Linked DNA regions of Homo sapiens: region 1 is linked to region 2. The links are contacts of gene promoters, found by promoter capture Hi-C in human tissues and cell types (Jung and others, 2019). All regions are on one chromosome and are shown on one strand. The core of a region is centred on a gene start or on the middle of the fragment in contact, and the rest is flanking DNA. Distances in the headings are between cores, read along the strand shown.

Evidence for each region. The method cuts DNA at HindIII sites, captures the fragments that hold promoters and counts their contacts. A contact is called where the count stands out against the background at its distance.
Region 1: a fragment that was not itself captured here is called in contact with the fragment with the promoter of VIPR2 in region 2 in 4 of the 25 tissues and cell types used here (H1 embryonic stem cells, bladder, liver and 1 more).

Annotation. Positions count from the first base shown.
Region 1 is chr7:158,998,782-159,002,908 of GRCh38, reverse strand. No RefSeq gene overlaps it. Among named protein-coding and RNA genes, the nearest start is that of LINC00689, 7.5 kb to the left of the region's middle. The HindIII fragment of the contact is 6,196 bases long and covers 1-4,127 here.
Region 2 is chr7:159,142,777-159,147,293 of GRCh38, reverse strand. VIPR2 (vasoactive intestinal peptide receptor 2) reads left to right here and starts at 2,427. Exons shown (of 13, transcript NM_003382.5): 1 at 2,427-2,573. The coding sequence starts at 2,523. RefSeq lists an enhancer at 1-629. The HindIII fragment of the contact is 14,641 bases long and covers 1-4,517 here.

The DNA of each region.
Region 1 (4,127 bases), core at 807-3,306, 140 kb after region 2:
GCCTGAGCATAACTTGCACACAGACACTGCCTCACCTCTTTCCTATAGCAGTGACCAGCATCCCGTGGCCCTGCAGGCACCTCCTAGAGTGCATCTGGCAGAGACACATCACTAGGCCAAACCAAAGCAATGGGAACCCTGTCTCCAGGTTCCTGGTTCCATGAGGGAATCAAGTTACCTCAGCAACAGTGTGTCTGCATGTATGTATGAATTTTAAACAACTACAACAAGGTGGCAAAAGCAAGCCCCCTCTGGAGGATAAAGAAAAGCTGAAATACTCCACAGCACTTACCAGACGGGGCGAGGGAGGAGCCCTGCTCCACGCGCTTCTCCGGCCACAGGGTCTGAACCTTCGGGCATGTCTGCTTAGAGACGTGGAATTCTGTCAAATGAGCCCCCCTAGAAGCTTCCGGTGAGAATCTGTCTAGAACTGTTGGGTGGGCTGTGGTTTGACTTAACCATCTGCATGTAGATAAATTACCATTTATATGTGTGAAGAAGGTATCCATCCAGTGATGATCCAACACGTGCTCATCACATACCATTAAATTTTCAAAAGTAACTGGTGTAGCTAATTATCTGTCTCAATCTGGCAGCCTCTGAAGTGTCACTTACAATTTGTGCACTCAGCTCATAAACCTGAAGTATCCGGATGCCCAGTGCTAGGTCAGATGCCCAGTGCTAGGCCAGATAGCCTCTCATCCTTCTGAAATGAAAGTTTGGAATTGTGGTGCCACAGAGAAGGGACCCTCGGGTCCGTGGTTGAGACTGAGCCTGTGGAAGCTCAGAACTTGGCGATGAGCGGCTGCAGTCACGGGAGCACAGGCACCTTGAGCAGGAGAGACCTAGGGACCCCTTTGTGCAGCCCCTCCTCACACGGGGAGACGGGCAGCCCTGGAGGTCGGGGGTTGGGGCTGAGGCCACCCACACACATGGGCTCTCCTACCACCTTCTCCTCCTGATTCAGGACTGAGGAATCCAGGAACCCTGGGGAGCTCACAGGCACCAGGGACTGAGACGCTGCAAGGGCATCAGCCATCGACCATTGGACAGCCACCGCAGTGAGCAAACCCCAAAGTCTCGTGCTAAGAAGAGACTTCATTTGGAGAAGTGAATTCTGACAATACTCCACAAACAAAGTTAGGACAGTTGTTCAGGACAGCAGCAGGGAGGCATCGAGTGGAAGTGAGGAGGAACCGGCCTTTGTGGAGCTCCAAGCTGCATAAAGTCTCCCAAATGCAAAGTCTCGCTCCAGTCAGCAAAGTTCAGAGCAGCTCTCTCCAGCATCTTCAGCCACTGCCAGGCAGGCCGGCTCTCAGCACGGGTGGTAAACTTTCTCATTTTCCTCATGCCAAAAATACATCATTTCCAAAATAGAAAAATGATATTGTTCAGAGGTGAGGCAGGTGCGTTAGGAAAGAACAAAAACAGGCCTTATTGGATATGACAAGAAGTGCGGCCCCTTTCAGAAGCAAACTAGAGAACCTGAGCCAGGAAGGACGTTGCATTTGCTGAGTGGCCGAAAGCTGTCAGGGGTCGGGGCATGCAGAAGACGTCCTGTTATTCACTTCTCAGAACAGACCTGTGAGTAAAGAACCACATTTCATAGATTAGGAAACAGCCCCGGAGAGCCTCGGTGACGTGCACGAGGTCCCCAGCTCCGCGGCGGGTGAGCCAGGCTCCAAGCACCGGCTTTCCTGGCTGCACTTCCTGGAGGGACAAATTTGGGGATGAGAAGGAAATGAGGGCCTGGCGGGGTCTCTAGGGTTTTCATTTTGTGTCTTCACATAGGTGGCGAATTTGAGAAACTGTAATGGACGATTTTACTCTGATGAGCTCTAGAGGGGGTTGCTGAGAAGCGAGGCCTGCGTTTTCCTCCTGACGAGGTCTGGGCGGGCAGTTGTCTCCTACCTTTTGTACTAATTCACCTGGTGACACTGTCAAAGGAGAGAAAACCACAGGTTAGCAATTCCCACTATATTCATTCCAAACACAGCCCATCGTAATCTAAAAAGCCATCAGGGCCATCGCAGGGCTCCATGTTTCCCTGGGGATGTTACTTCCTGCACACTGACCAGCAGATGATACTGACAACACTTTGCAGCCTCAACCCGTGATAACGGGAAAAAGATAAAATAAAGAGGCTGGACATGGTGGCTCACACCTGTAATCCCAGCACTTTGGGAGGCCGAGGTGGGAGGATTGCTTGAGCCTAGAGGTTTGAGACCAGCCTGAGCAACAGAACAAGACCCTAGCTCTTTTAAAATAACTAAAAGAGTGTAATTATATTGCTTGTAACACAAAGGATAAATGCTTGAGGGGACGGATGCCCCATTGTCCATGATGTGATCAGCACGCATTGCATGCCTGTATCAAAGCATCTCATGTACCCCATAAATATATATGCCTACTATGTACCCACAAAATTTAAAAATAAAACATTTTTAAAGAGAGAAAAGAAAACCCACAGGGGGCAGGCACAGATTCTGGCTGCCTCTGGCGCATCCACATGGATGTTGGCATTTCATCCTCTTCTCAGAGAAAGCAGTTGGTCCCACCTCCACCCGCTGTCTGCGGAGGGGTTTGGACTCTCAGCATCTTGGCTATGCTGGCACTCTTCCCTGCTCAGGGAGCCAGCTGTTCCTGGACCCCTGCTAAGAAGACCTAACCGTGGATGGCGTCATGATCGCCAGGCCGTCCCCCGTTCTTTCACCCTCTCGGGACCTGGAATTCCATCTTGCTTCCCTATTGTGTCTGTCCACGGGGCCAGTCACAGGGCAAGTACTCAACACGTATTTGTCAAATGAAGGAATACATTGTACGAAGGAAAAATCGGAAAATGCCACCTCTGAAGATTGGAAATCAGAACTAACAAGAATCCAGGTGAGACATTGAGCTCAGCAGGAGGTTTCCCAGCAGTGTGTTCTCTGTGAAAATGTGACTCACAAGGCTGCCGGGTGGGGAGCGGAGGGGCTCCGAAATATCATCTGGGAATGTGAAATGATCAGTAACATTAGCAACGATCCGCTCAAGACTGAGCCAGGACAACAAAAAGTTTTGGTGGCTGATGAGGGTCAGTCAGGAGCGCTGGGTAGAATGGAGCTAGCCACCCGCTGGTTTCTGGCATTGGACAGAAACGCTAAGCCAGGGGTTCTCCTCACAGGCCCAGGGGGAGGAACGAGCACGGGGCGGTTTGAGGAGGGAAGATGGGGCGGAGCCCCAGGGGCAGCCTCGCGCATTGGGTCCGGGTAGTGTGATCCCAGAGCCTGCGTCTTAGCACTGTGCGGCCTCGCCCTTCTTTTTCTTCCACCTGTGCGTGGAAATAGAGCACGAACCCAGGAATGCAGACACCAAGTCTCTCCACCTCGAGACGCGCATAGCACACAGAGCTGCAGAGGCCACGCAGATAAACCACCAGCACTCCAGACTGGGCAGGAGCCGCTGTCAGGACAGAGGACACCTATCCACACCCGCCTGGCCTCAGAAGATCCTGGGTCAAAGAATAATTCTCTTTTCATGTATATGTGTTGAAAGAATTTCAGACTAGCAAGCAAGCCGTTTTGACTGTTTCTTAAGATACGTAGGGAGTTTGTTCTTTCTTTATTAGCAGAAAGCCACGTTTTAAGGATTAAATTTTTTCCATAAGAACGTAAGGAAAATGTGGTGAAACAAACACCTTCTGTTGGTCAGGGAAACACTGGGTACCTTCAACGTGAGGGGCTCCTGAAGACCTCCTGAGAACCACACAATGACCCAAGACAGGACCTCAGCTGCCTCTTGAAGGCAGAGGGGAGGCTGCACATTTTACAGGTGATCTGGACGTTGTTAGATGCTACAAATAAGAGCCAAGGAAAAGATGTTAAGCGTCTGCGTGAGTCAGGAAAACCTGGAGCGTGAGTGGAATCACTGCTTCCTGACTCGTTCCCTCGCCATAGGAAATGGCCCTGGGCAGAAAACAAGCCCCTGAGGAGGGGGGAGCGTGGACGCACGTGGGGAGTGTGGAGGGGGGTCCCCACTGAGGAGAGGGGAGCGTGGATGAAGGTGGGGAGTGTGGAGGGGGGTCCACACTGAGGAGAGGGGAGCGTGGATGAAGGTGGGGAGTGTGGAGGGGGGTCCCCACTGAGGAG
Region 2 (4,517 bases), core at 1,178-3,677:
CCAGATAGATAACAGGTAGAGGATAGATGACAGGCAGATGACAGATAGGCAGATGATAGATGATCGATAGATGACAGGCAGATGATGGATGACAGGCAGATCACAGATATGATAGATCACAGATAGATGACAAATAGGCAGATGATAGATGACAGGCAGATGACAGATAGGCAGATGATAGATGACTGATAGATGACAGGCAGATCACAGATATGATAGATCACAGATAGATGACAAATAGGCAGATGATAGATGACAGGCAGATGACAGATAGGCAGATGATAGATGACTGATAGATGACAGGCAGATCACAGATATGATAGATCACAGATAGATGACAAATAGGCAGATGATAGATGACTGATAGATGACAGGCAGATCACAGATATGATAGATCACAGATAGATGATAAATAGGCAGATGATAGATGACAGGCAGATGACAGATAGGCAGATGATAGACTGATAGATGACAGGCAGATGACAGATAGGCAGATGATAGATTGATAGATGACAGGCAGATGACAGATAGGCAGATGATAGGTGATTGATAGATGCCAGCCAGATGACAGATAGGCAGATGATAGGTGATTGATAGATGACAGCCAGGTAGATCACAGATATGCCGGATCACAGATGATGGATAGGCAGATGATAGATGACAGATAATAGATGATAGATTACAGATAGACGATCGATAGGAAGATAATAGATGATAGGTACATGACAGATCATAGATAAATGACAGAGAGGTAGATGATAGATGATAAATAGGTAGATGGTAGGTAATAGATAGGTAATAGATCGCAGAGAGATGATAGGTAGATGATAGCTGATTGATACATGATACAGAGATGATAGGTACATGATAGATGGATAGATCATAAATGACAGCAGATGATAGATGATAAATAGGTAGATGACAGGTTATAGATAGGTAAATTACAGATGAAAGATAGGCAAATGATAGATGATAGGTACATAATAGATGGATAGATCATAGATAATAGATGACAGGTAGGTGATAGAGGAAAGGTGGATGATAGATGATAGGCGCATGATGATAGATACCTGACAGATGGATAGATGAAAGGTAGATGATGGACAGGTAGATGATAGATGACAGATAATAGATGACAGATTACAGATAGATGATCGATAGGAAGATGATAGATGATAGGTACATGACAGATCGATAGATGATACGTAGATGATGGATAGGTAGATGATAGATAATGTGGATGATAAACATCAGATGATAGAAAAATCGATATCTGTGAATACGGGGGGTGGGGGATCAGAGAGAAGCAAATGATAAGCCCAATGAGGTAAATGTTAATGACCGAATCCACAAAAAGGATAAAAAGGAGTTATTTGTAATATTCTTATTCTTCTAATTTTTGTGTAAGTTTGAAATTATTTCCAAATAAAAAATTAAAACAACACGAACTTAACTTGTATCTCTCATTCCAGTGCTTTCCACTTGCTGGGGAACGCCGAGCTCTCCTGGGTTGGTCACGCGGGCGCCTTGGGAGGCCGCGCAGTCCCGCGTGGGGCGCGGCGGGGCGGCCCCAGTGGCACCGCGTGAGTCCCCGCCCAGCGTTCCCCACCCGCCGCCGCGTTTGCGGGGAGAGAATGACCCCCGTTTTGCAAACGCAGGACACAAAACCCGCCACCCAGCTGAGGCTGGGACCCACCTATACCCCCGTCTGCGTTTTTCTCCAGCTTTCTGTTCGACCTGATGTCCTCTTTGAGGCTGCGGGGATCCCCACCAAAAAGCACTCTGATTTTCTCCATTTTCAGATGCCCCAACCTAGCCCCACTGGCTACAAAGACGGCGCGCCCACCCCGGACGGGTCTCTGGCCGCTTTCTTGGGCTTCCGCAGTTGTTTAGAAAGGCAGGTACAGGCGGCCGCAAAGGCATCCGCCCCTTCCGAGCGCACACCTGGCCCGGTCCTCCTCTCCCGGCCCCGCGCCGGCCGCTCTCCCCCAGTTCTCTCTACTCGGAGCCGGGCGCGCACTGAGCACCCCGCTTCCCAGCCCCTCCGCCCACAGATCGGGGAGGCGCGGCCGGGAGGGGGGCGTGGGCCAGGGAAGAGGGGAGGAGAACGGAGAGAGAGGCTGGGGGGGTCGAGGAGACCAGAGGGAGCGCGCGCGGCGGGGACAGAGAGCCCAGGGGCGAGGAGAGGGCGCGGGGCGCAGCGGAAGGGGAAGTGGGGGGCGGTGAGGAGGGGCGCGGAGCGGGGGTTCTCGGGGGAGGAGGGAGACGAGGATTGGGGCAGCGCGGGGCGGGGACAGGGGCGGGGGGCGGAGCGGCGGGGCGCGTGGGGGACGGGCGTGCATTGAGCGCGCTCCAGCTGCCGGGACGGAGGGGGCGGCCCCCGCGCTCGGGCGCTCGGCTACAGCTGCGGGGCCCGAGGTCTCCGCGCACTCGCTCCCGGCCCATGCTGGAGGCGGCGGAACCGCGGGGACCTAGGACGGAGGCGGCGGGCGCTGGGCGGCCCCCGGCACGCTGAGCTCGGGATGCGGACGCTGCTGCCTCCCGCGCTGCTGACCTGCTGGCTGCTCGCCCCCGTGAGTGCGCCCGCGACCCCCGCCCCACGGCGCCTCGGACCCGGTTCTCCCCTTCCGAGAAGAGCGCTCCTCCCGCCGGTCTTCGCCTTCCTCCCGGGTGCTGGAGCGCGGGCGGGGTCCGGGAGAGGGAGCGGGGTCGCCCGGGGTCCGGAGCTTCCTCCCGGAGAGCGTGAAGCGCTGAGCTCCGGTCCCGCCGGGTTGCGGGACTCGGGTTGGGAGGCTGCCTGCGCCCTTCCCCGCGCCCCACCGTCCGGGGTTTGCTGGAAACGGGATCGTTTCTTCCTGGACGCGTCAACGATGAGCTCGTTCGGGGCCGTCCCGGGAGCTGGGAGCTGCGGGCGCCTGCGCGGGCTGCGCGTTTCACGGGGAGATCGGGGTTGGCGTTGGCCGCAGATGCCTCTCGGTCCCTCCCTGTACTTACTGGTTAGTTTTAGTGTCGGGGGGACGTGGCGTCGGTTAAATAAAGTTTCCTTTTGGAAATAGTTGCTTTTTCCCAAGGGCACTGGAGGAACTAACTGCTCATAAGTTTGTTGATTAAGTGCCTTCGCACATGGAGTTCTGAATTATTCCCTCTGTGAACCTTAAAAAAAAAGGAAAGAAAAAAGAAAGAAAAAAACCCGAGCCTTGTTTCTTGCTTTCCTCTTGGAGACTGAAGCGGGTTTGCGGTGCGCGCGGTTTTCGTGCGCGTCGCAGCCGAGGCAGGTCTGGATCGATCCGCGGCCCCTCCGCAGCTGGGAGGCTGCGCTGCTGACCCGACAGTGTCATTGATTAACCGGCGACGCCCGGTCTGCAGCGGGGCTCGAGCCACACTCCCTGGCCTTGCGCGGAGGCGCAGCTCGGCTTTCCTCCCTCGAGGGTGGGCGCTTTGCGGAGCGGGTCCTTGGAAAGTAACGGGTTTTATCACGGTTAATGCTGCTTTCATTGCTAAAATGTCCTAAAAGAAGTCATTGCTGTGCATATTCCAGGAACGTCAGGTATTATTAATGTCTTTTACACTTTAACAAAGTTTTTCTTTTTACATCAATATAATTTCCTTAATTCTGAAATTTAAGCCACTTACTTGTCCTGCATGAAAACAGAGGACTTGGAGCCCAAAGTCAGTGCCTGGTGCTGGTTCAGTCACGAGCAAGAAGCAAGCTCGGGGCTCTTTTAAATGGGGCTGAAGGTGGCAGAAGTTCCAGCATTGTTTTCCCCTTAATTCTGTTAGGATATTGTGTTCCTGGTTGGAACTCTCATTGACCATTTCAATAGTAAGATAACTAAACATAGATGGCCATAGTACGCCCAACAGTATGATTCTCTTTAGTTACTACTTTAGTACAAGTAGAATTTTGGTCGGTGGTGGGGGAGGGGGAAGATCAAGACCAAAAGGATGGGTGGGGGGAGCCCTCCTTAAGCCCCCAAGGGCCGCTTGGCAGGCCTGTGCTGACTTCGCGGAGGGCGTGAAGAACAAGGTAGAAACGGTGCCTTCTGAGAGGAAGCATTGTGTAGTTCTGCCTTCTTCTCACATTAGTAGACTGTTAATTACTATCTTTGTGGCACCTTTCGCTCCCCTGATGGATCCTGACTGGAAATCGCCCCCTCTTCTCTGTGGGGCCACAATGGTGTGATTCCCCCACCTCTGCCTCCCTCCTCATCTTGCTGATTTCTTTGAATATCTCTTCCACCCCAAATTCTAGTCAAAACGATTGCAGTTTTATCTGTAGTTAGAGGGTTAAGCTTTGAACATGTACCAACACCTTTAAAAATAAAGCCCTTCTATCACGGCTCTTTCCCGGGTGGAGGCCGTCCTCGGAGGAAGCGGCACAGTCCACAGGCATCCGCTTAAACCAAACCAAAGGGTGTGAAACGGAGGAGCCGGGTATGGAGAGATGAATGGAGTAAAGAGCTCTGTTGCCTCCAAATTAGTACCGATGTATTCTGTTAGTAAGTTCATTTTCCTGC